Regions from separate parts of the Homo sapiens genome. Here region 2 is linked to region 1. The links are contacts of gene promoters, found by promoter capture Hi-C in human tissues and cell types (Jung and others, 2019). All regions are on one chromosome and are shown on one strand. The core of a region is centred on a gene start or on the middle of the fragment in contact, and the rest is flanking DNA. Distances in the headings are between cores, read along the strand shown. Region 1 holds the start of HOXA4 (homeobox A4). Region 2 overlaps SKAP2 (src kinase associated phosphoprotein 2).

The links. The method cuts DNA at HindIII sites, captures the fragments that hold promoters and counts their contacts. A contact is called where the count stands out against the background at its distance.
Region 2: a contact is called between a fragment that was not itself captured here and the fragment with the promoter of HOXA4 in region 1, in 1 of the 25 tissues and cell types used here (dorsolateral prefrontal cortex).

The regions. Positions count from the first base shown.
Region 1 is chr7:27,129,376-27,132,075 of GRCh38, forward strand. HOXA4 (homeobox A4) reads right to left here and starts at 1,382. Exons shown (of 2, transcript NM_002141.5): 1 at 743-1,382; 2 at 1-196. The coding sequence starts at 1,358. The region is part of intron 2 of HOXA3 (homeobox A3); the gene reads right to left. RefSeq lists a silencer at 1,540-1,609. The HindIII fragment of the contact is 3,192 bases long and covers 1-2,700 here.
Region 2 is chr7:26,794,478-26,797,177 of GRCh38, forward strand. All of the region lies in intron 4 of SKAP2 (src kinase associated phosphoprotein 2), which reads right to left. Among named protein-coding and RNA genes, the nearest start is that of SKAP2, 69 kb to the right of the region's middle. The HindIII fragment of the contact is 6,768 bases long and covers 1-2,700 here.

The DNA of each region.
Region 1 (2,700 bases), core at 132-2,631:
TTCCACTTCATCCTCCGGTTCTGAAACCAGATCTTGACCTGGCGCTCAGACAAACAGAGCGTGTGGGCGATCTCGATGCGGCGCCGCCGGGTCAGGTATCGATTGAAGTGGAACTCCTTCTCCAGCTCCAAGACCTGCTGCCGGGTGTAGGCGGTTCGAGAGCGCTTAGGCTCCCCTCCGTTATAACTGGGGTTAACTGAAAACCCAGAACCCCGAAATAGAAGGCCAAGGAGGAGGGAGCGGAAGAGAGGGAAAGGAGGAGGAGAGAGAAGGTGGGGTGGGGAAGAGCAATTGGACATCATCATTATATAATAACCTGACACCAAGTTCACGCAAGATACATAAAACGGCAAAGAAAATGTTTCACAGGCTATTGACAACGGGAAACACCCGAGAGCCATAAAGAATGGTGCTGGGCATTGGGGCTGAAGAAAAGCTTCAAAGACACATGGCCTGAAGCCTCTGCCAGGGCAATTAAATTTATGGGGGCTATAATTACTGCCCTAACAGTTTGGCGTCTCGTAAATCTCCTGATAAAGGGACCCTGGGTACAAAAGGGTTCTCATGTTGGGATCAGGCGGCTGGCTGGCGCGCACATACCCACATCTCACCGCAGCCCGGGTCAGATGGGGGCTCCCCTCCCGAGGCCCCCTTCCCCTGAGCCTCTCCCTCCTGACCCCGACCCTCGAACCCAGGCCCAGCCCCGGCCCACCTCCCGCGCCTCCCAAGCGGCGCCACGTACCGGCGCTGACATGGATCTTCTTCATCCAGGGGTACACCACGGGCTCCTTGCCCTTCAGGCCCAGCGGGCTCTTGTCGGCCAAGAGCAGCGGGCACGCGGGGGCGCTGCCCCCTGCCGGGACGCCTGGGGTGGCGGGGGCCGCCTCGCAGCGCCGCGGGGCCGCTGGGGGCACGGCGCGAGGCTGCAGGGGCGGCGGCAGCTGGGGCTGCAGGACGTGGCTCGCATGCAGGCCGTGCGCTGGGCCCTTGGCTTGCGCCGGGGGCTGCTCGGGCTGGGGCGGCCGCCCGGGGCTGGCGCCGCCGCGGTAGCCATAGGGGTAGGCGGTGTCCGCGGCCCCATGCGCGGGGTACAGCGCGGCAGCAGGGTAGGCGGGCTCGCGGGCGGTCCGCGGCGCGTAGTAGGAGGCAGTGGGCTCTCGGCCGCCGCCCGCGTGAGGGAGCTGGGGCTGCTGCAGCGGCAGGTGCTGGGTCGGGGGCGCTGGGGGCTGCTGGTAGCCGGGGCCCCCGCCCGGGCCGCCGTCTGCGCCGCCCGAGCCGCTGTGCTGCGCGTACTCCTCGAAGGGAGGGAACTTGGGCTCGATGTAGTTGGAGTTTATCAAAAACGAGCTCATGGTCATTAATTTGTGAAGTGCAAAAATACTAATTTTTCTCGCGTTGTCGTTTTTTCTGGGCTTGCCGAGGCCCCTCCCCCTCCTGCCTCGCTTCCCATCCCCCTTTCCTCTGCGCCCTTCCCCTCCCCCCGCTGTCAAGTGCCCACTCCTCCCCCTCCCGCAGACGCCGCCACCAAAGTTCGAGCCGCTCCTCCCCAGCCCAGCGCGCGCCCCGCCCCGTGCCCCACGTGCAGCGCCCCCACCAATGGGCGCACCGCGCGCGCGGACCCGGATCAGGAAACGCGCGGGTGCGTGATGGATGCTGCTGTCCGGCCCCTGGGCTGGGGGAGGGAGCAGGAGCTTTGGACCCCAGCCCCCCAGCTTTGGTTCCCGCTGGGAATTCAGGCCCTGTCAGGCTGTAGGTCCTCTCGGGAGCCCTCTGCCTGCCCTACTGCTGGCCTAGGCCTCGGGCTGTCTGGCGGCCGCGACTCAGCGCTGACCTCGGGCGCAACCCAGTCAGGCTTCGTGTCCTTCAGGGGTTCTAGGCTAACAGGCGAAAGGAAGGGCGTTGGGACCGAGGGGCATCCTGGTTTTTATGTACGCCACTGAGAGGCCACCAGACACATTTTCTCAACCGCAGATCCCCCTTCCCCACACCCTGCTCCTTGCGTGTCAGCCTGAGAGCCCTTGCTTTGAGAAGCTTGGCAGAAGCTGCAAAGGGTGGGCGGGCAGCTAAGAGAAATCGACCCAAGGATGTAAATCGAGGCCATTCCATTATAACTGGATGGACACTTTTCATTTTTTCCTTCTTTCAGAGACAATCTGTTTCGTGTTTTCCTAAGAAAAATTGGAACCTTCGTAATAGCATCTAATTTGACGGGGGTTGTCGATGTGAGAGCTAAATATGCCCGCATTTACTAGGTGCGATTGTGAGAGAGAAGGTGGCCCAAGGATGGGAATGGATAGAAGCAACACCTCCACAGAACCGAGCTTTGAAAACAATAACTTCCTATTTCAGAACTATCCCCAAACAAAAACAAGCTAAGGGTAGAATAAACACCTTGCCGGGTCTGATCGCTGATGGGTCTTTTCCAGCTAAGAATTTCATGTTTTCTCTTTTAGATCCTGCTTTCTCAGGCAGTATCTGAGGCTAGAGTTATATTTGCAGGACAGTCTATAATTTCTGAATTGCTGAAAATTAGCGTATTAACGATATCAGAAGCTCCGGAAAGGAGGGAGAGGAGACTGTTGCCTGCTATTTGGTAATTGAAATTTGATGGGTACACTAATTACGCCATTATTAACAAATAAATTACTTATTAATTCCACCTAATGTTGATCTTTGAAGTAAATACTGATGCCTTATTTG
Region 2 (2,700 bases), core at 143-2,642, 330 kb before region 1:
AGTTTTGGGTTGGATAAAAGTTGCCAGGTGGAGGTCATTCAGGGGAGGTTGTTAAATAAAAATGCTATATAAACTGCATGCTGTTTGCAAGTGGTTGCAGTTTTCCTGCCCAGCCCACCATCACTGGGCCATGCAATTATCTTGTCCAGCCTGCTGCCACTGGACTGTAGGAAGGTGGATATCTTGTCTAGCCCACCACCATTAGATTGTAAAAAGGTGGATATCTTGTCCAACCCCCTGCCACTGGACTGTAAGAAGGCAGATATCTTGTCCAGCCCACCACCACTGGACTACAGGAAGTTGGATATCTTGTACAGCCCGCAGCACTGGACTGTAGGAAGGTGGATATCTTGTCCAGCCCACCACCACTGGACTGCAAGGAAGGTGGATATCTTGTCCAGCCAGCCACCACTGGATTCTCTCCCCTGTACGTATATAAGTTCCTAATAAAACCCCATGTCTCGTTTGCTGGCTCTGGGTCTCTTCTTCAGCCTCTTGAACCTGGTGCCTTCCCTATTGAGGTTAATAGAGGTTTGGCACAACACAGACAAAACAATGTTGATCATAAGTGGACACATGTTTGAGAACCAATTAAAGAGATTTTACTAATAAACAGAAAATGTCCTAAAAGTTCAAAAGAGAAGAGTCACAGAAATTCACTGTTACTCTTGCTACACAGTATTTGCTTCAGTTTATGCCATCAAATTCCTCATTCTTTGAAATTCTAGCCAAGTTCCTTATCACTTGCAATAGGTAAACTTCAGTAGTTATATACAACCAAAGAGGAAGAATGTGAAAGATCCAGATGTTGGTCCTTTCCAGTAAATAATTTATTCATCTGGATGAACATACTAAGTGTTATCACTTTTTCCTACCAGAAAGCTCCAAGCTTTTGAATAAGATCAAATTATCTAAATACTACTTATTTTAATCTTATCGTAGATCATAGGATGAATAAACTTCTAAGTGGATTTTTGAATTTTTCTTCTTATTAGTAAGAACCTCATTTTGATAACTTTAGAAGCAGTTAATTAAATGTAATCAACATTTATTAGCAAGATACGATTCTCAGCACTGTAAGTGGAACAAAATTTTAGCCACCTCAAATCCATTTTGGAAAAATATGAGGTATAATATAAACAATAGCATCATTTAAGCCCCTATGTTATATTTAGATTTACTGGGCAACAACCTCATGATCCAGATACAGTCTTATAAAATGATAAGGGAAGCAGGCACCTATGAAGAGTACTGTTTGAGAAACTTAGTAAGTCACTTAACTCTTGAAAAAATAAAATCTCTCCCACTACCTGGTGATTCATACTTAATACATCATTAGTGGTTGTTAGGGGTTATTTAGGAATGGCTCCTTGATAAGTGCAAATAGCAGTGCATCAATTACAGTGGACCCCTGAACAACACAGGTTTGAACTGCACGAGTCCACTTATCCATGGATTTTTTCAACAAATATATTGGAAAATTTTTTAGAGATCTGTGACAATTTGAAAAAACTCAGAGATGACCTGCATGGCCTAGAAATATGGAAACAAGAAAAAGGTATGTCATTAATGCATAAAATATATGTAAATACTAGTCTATTTTATCATTTACCACCATAAAACATACAAATATCTATTATAAAAAGTTAGTATTTATCCAAACTTACGCACCACAGATCATACATGATGCTACGAAAAGTCAACACAAATGTAAACAAATGATAATGTAGTATTAAATCATAACTGCATAAAATTAACTGTAGTATATCCTGTCCTTTGGTAATAACATCATAGCCATCTCCTGTTGCTGTTGGGGTGAGCTTGAGTGTTACGAAAATCTGCTTAAAACGCTATGTGACACTAATTGACACTAATCATCTCCATGTGAGTAGTTCACCTCTCCAGTAAATTGCATATCGCAGTAAAAAGTGATCTCTTGTGGGTCTCACATATTTTTTACCATGTTTAGTGCAATACTGAAAACCTTGAATAACACCATGGGACCCATACAAAGTGCCACTGGTGATGCTAACAGTACCTCTGAAAAGCAGAGAAAATTCATGACATTACAAGGAAAAGTTGGGTTGCTTGATATGTACCATAGATTGAGTTCTGCAGCTGTGGCTGCCTGCCATTTCGGACAGATAATCGATTGCATAAATAGATGATATCAACTTGTGGCACCAATAAATACAGTACTGTAAATGTATTTTCTCATTAATTTTCTTAATAACATTTCTCTAGCTTATTCTATTATAAGAATGCAGTATATAATACATATACAAAATATGTGTTAATCAACTGTTTATGTTGTTGGTAAGACTTATGGTCAACAACAGGCTATTAGTAGTTAGTTTTGGGGGAGTCAAAAGTTATATGTGGATTTTCAAAAGCACAGGGGGTTGACATCCCTAAACCCTCACATTGTTCATGAGTCAACTGTATATCCCTTACTCCTTTACCATGAGCAGAGCACAAAACATTTGGGCAAATGGTCATAATAGGTTAAGATTTGGTGGGAGAAAAGTAGAGGAGAAATCTGGAGGAGATAAAGAAAATAGGGCATCTTCATCCATGAATCAGAAGTGTTGGACTTGACTCTAGTCCCTAATTCCTGGATGGTACTTCTGGACCCACCGGGGATTAGGGGACCTCGCTGCCTTGAAGGAAAGGACACAGTCCTGGCTGCTTTGCCACTGG